Regions from separate parts of the Homo sapiens genome. Here region 1 is linked to region 2. The links are contacts of gene promoters, found by promoter capture Hi-C in human tissues and cell types (Jung and others, 2019). All regions are on one chromosome and are shown on one strand. Each heading gives the region's core, a stretch centred on a gene start or on the middle of the fragment in contact. The rest is flanking DNA. Distances are from core to core; before and after follow the strand shown.

Evidence for each region. Contacts are between HindIII fragments. The study calls those that stand out against the background at their distance.
Region 1: a fragment that was not itself captured here is called in contact with the fragment with the promoter of RNF121 in region 2 in 1 of the 25 tissues and cell types used here (spleen).

Annotation. Positions count from the first base shown.
Region 1 is chr11:72,067,346-72,071,027 of GRCh38, forward strand. It overlaps NUMA1 (nuclear mitotic apparatus protein 1), which reads right to left. Exons shown (of 27, transcript NM_006185.4): 2 at 2,497-2,566. Among named protein-coding and RNA genes, the nearest start is that of MIR3165, 3.1 kb to the right of the region's middle. The HindIII fragment of the contact is 8,682 bases long and covers 1-3,682 here.
Region 2 is chr11:71,927,391-71,930,899 of GRCh38, forward strand. It overlaps RNF121 (ring finger protein 121), which reads left to right and starts at 1,656. Exons shown (of 9, transcript NM_018320.5): 1 at 1,656-1,734. The coding sequence starts at 1,672. It overlaps XNDC1N (XRCC1 N-terminal domain containing 1, N-terminal like), which reads right to left and starts at 1,204. Exons shown (of 6, transcript NM_001375847.2): 1 at 975-1,204. XNDC1N-ZNF705EP-ALG1L9P (XNDC1N-ZNF705EP-ALG1L9P readthrough) reads right to left here and starts at 1,204. Exons shown (of 11, transcript NR_172895.1): 1 at 975-1,204. RefSeq lists an enhancer at 1,037-1,346. The HindIII fragment of the contact is 22,719 bases long and covers 1-3,509 here.

The DNA of each region.
Region 1 (3,682 bases), core at 137-2,636, 140 kb after region 2:
CTTTAAAAAAGGCTTGAAATTAATAACAGCAGGAAACAAAGTCTCTCAATCCTCTGAATCACAATATCCACACTGTCCATTTTGATGAAATTCACCCCCACCTCCTTCAAACAATAGGTCCTACCAAGGAATGACTTCTCTCAGGACCAACATGTCCTGTGATTGTTTTTCTGGAGCAAGCTTCCAGTGCCTGCTTCTCATTAAATAGCTACTTAATGTCTGATCACCCAGCTGTGACTATAAGTAGAGAGTAAAGTAACTATAATTTAGGAAGTAAAAAAGAAATTCCACTCCTACCCCAAGTCCAGTAGTCAAACAGCTTAGAATAGACATTTCCCTACCTCAAACCTTCTTAGGCTTATCCAATTTTCAGATCTAGAATTTTTAGCATCTCTTAACTCTTTCAATATAAAAATGAGGAAAACAATGTTTAGAGTAAGAAAGAGAATTGCAAATGATTATACAGTAACTTAGTCACAGAATCTTTTGACCAGGCTGTCTAACACCTCATTTAACTGATGAGTTTTCAAGACCACTGTTTCCAGGAACAGGTTACAGGGCACTACAATATAATCAGCTTAATTTGCATATATTCAAGATAACAGCCCCTAGGCTTGACCCCTTCACCATCTTCCTGCCTACCTTTTTTCAAACCCACAACTGCTAACAACAACAAAAAAATCAATGTAGTGATTTAATACATCATTTCTGCCTAAAAAAAGACTGGAGCTACCAAACCATCTGCTTCAGCCTCACCACCTGGGATTCATCTTGATTGATTTGGGTGTGTTGGTGGGCAGTGGCTGCCACAGCCTGAAGAACTCTTCCAACTCTTTCTGGGGGTCTTCTGGAGATGGGACTGCAATGGCTCCTCAGCTGCAGTTTCCTATAGAGCAACATGTTGAAACACACTTGTTCCCTCAACACACTTGTGTTTCAGCCCTCAACACACTTGTGATTTGGGAGGAGTACCAGGAGAAAGACCAGTTTTTGGCAGGGCGCGGTGGCTCACGCCTGTAATCCTAGCACTTTGGGCGGCCAAGGCGGGTGGATCGCTTGAGGTCAGGAGTTCAAGACCAGCCTGACCAACATGGTGAAACCCTGTCTCTACTAAAAATACAAAAAATTAGCTGGGCATGGTGGCACATGCCTGTAATCATAGCTACTAGGGAGGCTGAGGCAGGAGAATCGCTTGAACCCGAGAGGTGGAGGTTGCAGTGAGCTGAGATCCCGCCATTGCACTCCAGTCTGGGTGACAGAGAGAGACCCTGTCTGGAAAAAAAAAAGAAAAGAAAGGCCAGTTTTCTCCATTATCTAGTCACCCCAACCTATAAGCAAGCATATGCACAGTCACTATAAAGGAAAGTGACTTGTTTTCCAGCAGACATTTCTAATCTTATTAAATCAAATGAAAACTGCAATCAAAATACTCTCCTTAGGAAGTTATTTACTTATTCTAACAAAACACTTCTTTGGGAGCTGCCTTTAAAGTCTACTCCATGTGAGACAAACAGAAAAATTCGGTGTTACTGTTTTATAGTCACACCTCATCCTTCACCAAAAAAGGTATTGCCTTGCATGAATCTTTGGCTCACGGCATCTTCTGGCTGTTTCTAAAAATTGAATCCACCAAGCTAAGAGTAAAGATTTGCTACCTCTGAGGATATTCAAAAGATTGGCTCAGAGGCAGTCTGAGGCAATGACACCATCACCAAAGGAAATCTAAAGGCTGAGAACACAATTACTTTGAAGGGGTCAAACTTAAAAACATTCTAATTGCCCCATAATTACAATCAAGGGGGCAAGACATGTACAATATCTGTCACATTTGTTCAACTATTATATCACTTTATAATTACACATTATATAATGATAAATTTTGGCCCTGGAAGAAATCTTCAAGATCATATAATCCTAACTGTCCCTTTTTACATATGAGAAAAGTTCAGTCCATTGAGGTTAGGCAATTTGTCCCTGGTCACACATCTGGTTAGCAACAGTCAGGATGAGAAACCCAGACACCCAAACTCCCAGCATAATGCACCCACACATACTTATGTATACAGCTCCTCCTCCCCTGCTTCTCACTTCCTTCACTCCCCTGATCAAAAGGGACAGAAATAACTTGGGACACTAAAGCACACCAAGAATGGTTCTGAAACCCAGTAGCAGAGAAATGATGGCTTAAAAACCAGGACTTCTCTGCAGTGGCCTCAATGGCCAATGTTTAGTGTCTGGCTCACAAGAGTTCTGGGCAATCTACCTCAGAGCAAGGGCCAATGAAAACCTCTGGACACCACCCTCCCACAGTTAGAAAAATATCTTTATTAAACCTCTCTGCTCTCCTCCTACAGTAACCTGTTTGCCTCAAATAATTGAAAGACAAAGACAATCACTTTGAAGAATCTGGGTCAGGGAAAAAGTAAATGGTAGAGATCCTGCTCAGGACAAAGCTGACCTATGAAAAACTAGAGGGCAGAAACCATTTTGACTTACCTCCTGGTGGAAGCCTCCACACACTAGAACAGGGTGATCTCCAGCAGTCTGGCTTAGAATTAGTTTCCACCTAGGGAAGGGGCAAAGGGACAGGAATGATTATTCATTCCCCTAACCCACCCACTCTTAGTGAGCTCAGCCTCACATTATCCTGGGCAACCCCAGCGTTCTGTGGATCAGACAGCAAGCAGAAGGGAAGCCATGCAGGCCAGGTCAACGGGGTGAGTCAGTGGCAGAGCAGGAAGAGTCACTGGGGCAGAAATTCTGGCCTTCTGTGGCAAGACTGCCAAGCCACACCCACACTTGGTCAGCACTGTGAAGGCCCTGCCCTGTTAGGATTTCAGTCTTTAAGCCAGAAAACTTCTTCCTCAGGAGGCCCCACACCACTCTCATTTTCAAGTGTCTCTCCTCCTGCTCAAAAATCTTCCAGTTTTCTTCTCCCTAAAGCATCATATCTAAATTCTTTGGCTTAACTTTCCAAATCCTCCATTATATGGCCTCAAGTCATTTATTCAACCTTATTTCCCACTATTCTACAGAATATACTCTGAATTGATCAAGCCAGTCTTCCCACTTCTCTCTGCGTGAGCCAAGCCTTTTCTCATTTCCCTGCTTTCAATTATCCAGGAGTGGTAAATTCAAACATCTTCAGGGGTCAGGCAGGTAACAGAAACAAATTATCCAGGCAAGGCCCAGTGGCTCACAGCGGTAATCCCAGCACTTTGGGAAGCCAAGGTGGGCAGATCGCTTGAGCTCAGGAGTTCCAGACCAACCTGGGCAACATAGTAAAACTCCGTCTCTACAAAAATACAAAAAATTAGCTAGGTGTGGTGGAGTGTGCCTGGGTCCCACCCACTTGGGAGGCTGCAGTGAGCTGAGACCGTGCCACTGGACTCCAGCCTGGGCAACAGAGCGAAACCACGTATCCAAACAAAACAAAATGAATGATCCAGTGGGGCACATGGCAGATCTAGGAAACGCTGCACCCCCCTAAAGGCATTCAAATATTTTAATTCAAATATTTATGTAGTGTCTCACTGTGAGCATCACGATAACCTTTTAAATAGTTATTAATACTCTATCTTGCAAATGAGAAAACTTCCCCAAGGTTAGGTAACTGGCAAAATGCTGGGCACAGTCTCTAGACCTGTCTGATGCCAAAGCAAGAGCTCTACACCATTAGGCT
Region 2 (3,509 bases), core at 406-2,905:
CGCGTACGTAGTCCCAGCTATTTGGGAGGCTGAGACATGAGAATCGTTTGAACCCAGTAGGCGGAGGCTGCAGTGAGCCCAGATTGAACCAGTGCATTCCAGCCTTGGTAACACAGCGAGACACCGTTTCAAAGAAAAAAAAAAAGCACTCAGATTAAAAAACAAAATGAAACACAATACAATACTATATAGTCATGGCTACATATAATTATTAAAAATGGACTGGGAGAACACAAGCTAATTCTAATTCATAATAGTTGCTTCTGGAGAGGATGAGAGGGTAATAGGCTTGAGAGTAGAAAAAACAGGTAAGTTTAACTTTTATTGTATTATCTAGCTTTTAAAAAATAAGCAAATAAATCATAATGCCAGTAGTCAATTTAGGGTGATGGGTGTACAGTATTTACAATATTCTCCGTATTAAGTGTCACAAAATAAAAATGATTATTTTTAAGTAAATGGGATGCCTGTGGATGATGTAGATAATTCCCTGTAATTTTCTGTTGGTCCCAATGTAAAGCTGACTTTTCTAGACGTTCTGTGGGCTCACAGGCCATCCTAGTTCCATTCACCAGACAGATCCAGGCGGACGCCCAGAGGCGTGTGAGCTGGGGCTACAGGCTTGCAAGGTATCGAGTTCACCGGCTGCTGAAAAATCAGTTATGAAGGTATACGTAGGGGTGGGACAGTGAATGGTGTATAAAAAGGAGGGTAAGGCAGAAGCTGGGGCCGCAGGATGTGGGTTAGAAAAGTGTGCCGAGGTGTGTGAACTGGCATGACAGCCTAAGTAAGACGCGGAATGTGGGTGCCCTGGAGGTCCCGCAAGGCTCTTCAGCTCTCAGTTTCGGGAGCTCAAGCCGCACCGCTGCTTTCACAGCTCATCGGGAACAGGCTGCTCAGTTCATTTCCTTGATGGCCACCCTCCTCCCTCTCGGCCACTCCCCTCCCCATCAACAAATCCCAACGCCCCTCACCCGGGACCGTGGACCTCGAGGAGCCACCGTTGCCTCGGATCTCGGACCACCAAACCTATTCTCCCGCCAATTCGGCCTTCTGACCTTCGCCTTCTGACCCCGAGAGCTACTCTTCCGTCTTCCGTAGCACAGGAATGCGTTCTGGGGCTTCAAGAAGCTGCTGTTTTTGAAAATGAGTCCTACCGAGGCAAGATGGCAGGTGCTGCAGCCAGGAAAATACATTTCCGTGTGTTTTAATATTTATTTTCACTCACTACAACTCTTTCGTGGAGGGAGCGGAATTTAAACTTCCGGGTCAGCCTCAGTGCAGCTTGGGAAACGTAGTTCCTAGTCCCCACGTCTCGCTCCTTGGAGCCCAGACTGAGGGAGCGTCGCGAAAGTTGCCCGTTTTGGAACGCTCCCATTTGGCTCTCCAAAGGGAAGAATTGGTTAAATAGTTGCACTGAAAATAATGCGATTCAAATTTCTCATTTTCCAAGAACGCTCCCTTGCTGAAGCTTGCAAGGGCACGGTACTCCCCTCTCCTTGACCCTGAAACGTGCAGCAAGTAGATAACCTCCTGATCCCTGACAGTCTCCGCCTGTGTTGATGCCCCGCCCCCTCTGCTGGAGTCCGAGCCGCCGATTGGCTAGGAGCACTTGAGCAGCGGAAGCAGCTGGCTCGCGCGGGGACTGCGGTGAGGGGGCGAGCCGTGAAGATGGCGGCAGTGGTGGAGGTGGAGGTTGGAGGTGGTGCTGCTGGGGAACGGGAGCTGGATGAGGTAAGCGGAGTTGAGAGACGAGGAGAGACTCAACCTGAGACTGAGGGGAGGGGCAGTGAGGTATCGGGAGGTGGGGGTCTTAGGAGAGAAGGGAAAGATCCTGAGAGGGAAGGAGCTGACTAGGGGGCGGGTGCGTGGAGAGCGAAGTCAGAGGCACTCCTGACTTGGGGACTCCGAGGCGGCCTTGGGAGTAGAAGACTTGCATTAGCCTCAAGGGTGAAGATGGAGGACAGAGAGAGAGGTCGGAGGGGTGGGGGTGTTAAGATTTTGTGATTACTAGCTGGGTGTCTTAGGGTAGGACCGAAGGGCTAAGAGGTAGTTTGAGTTGGAGGGACGTGAATTTCTTCAGGGGAAGGCTGGGCTTCTACTGTGGGAGAGGACTCTGTCTAAGCCTAGGGTGGGGGTTGGGGACACAGACCGGGAAAGAGTGCTAATCCACTAGTAGTATAGCTTTGAGTTATCTTAAAGTTGGAACTGTTTTATTTATCGTTCCATTCTAAGACTTTGTATCTAATGCATGCTCAGTAAAGTTTTGGCCAACGAATGAAGGAACAAGTGGATGAATAAATGATTGTATGCCGGAATTCATGCATTTATTCACTTAATAAACATTATGACTTTTGCTCCGGGTTCTGGGCCAGGTGCTAGGGAGACAAGGGGCCCCTCCGTTGAAGAGCCCACAGTCTAGTGGTGGGAGACAGACAAGAAGACTAGTCATTGCATTAGAGATATAATGGTGGCACTGAGAAGTGTGCAACATTTCAGCTTGGGATAGGGAAGGCTTCCCGGAGTTGCTGAGTTTTAAACGATAAATAAGTGTCTCTCTCTTCTTCTGGATTTATGAGTTCCTTGAAGGTGAGCTCCTTGAGATTGTATGTTCCCTTTACCTATCTAATAGGCATTTAAAGACTGGTGTATTAAAATACCAGTGGTCCTTGAAGGAATCACTAGGAGGAAGGAGATGTTGAGTGTGAAAGGAATGAAGGGACAGGGCAGAGAAGCAGAGACAGAGGTGAAAAGATTCTGAAGCCATGGAGACATTGATAGCTAGTGGTGTTTGTGATCTTGCACATGCCAGCATATGGGCAAAGACATCACAGGAATAGGAGGAAGGGGATTGGTTGTCAGAGATAGAACCAGTGAGATCTCTGAGGGGTCAGAATCTTAGAGGCCCCTTGCTGTGTGTTGGGTGTGGGAAGAGTGGGGAGGATTGGGGATGATTGAAGATGAGGTTCAGAGAAAGGGAGAAGTGGACTTGGGAAGCAATAAGACTGTTGCCTGGTAGTGGGATGAGTTGGAGGAGTTGGATTACCTGATTGGGATCATTAAGGTGGGAGGAAGGGACTGAGAAATTGACAGGTGATCACAGCAGGGGGATTTTTAAAGAAGTGTTGTAGTCTTCTACCTCCCAATCACTAGAGACTACAGGTGTTTGGATACCAGTTGGTTGGTTAGGTGGAGTGGTTGTGGAAATGACCTCCAAGACCCCTTCTAGCTTTTACATTTCTGTGATTACAGTTGGCTGTGGTTCAGTGAGATATATTTGAAGACACTTTGGAAAGGGTAAATACTGTATTGAAGTTCTTATTTAAGGTTTGTTAGTCATGGGCTCTCCCTTGAGACAATTACGTATATCTCAAAGCTGTAGTTACATATGTCAGGGTTCATTGAGATAAACAGCAGAAGTTTTGGCAGAGGAGAAAATAACATTTTCTTTTTTTATTTGAGATGGAGTTTCGCTCTTATTGCCCAGGCTGGAGTGCAGTATTGCAATC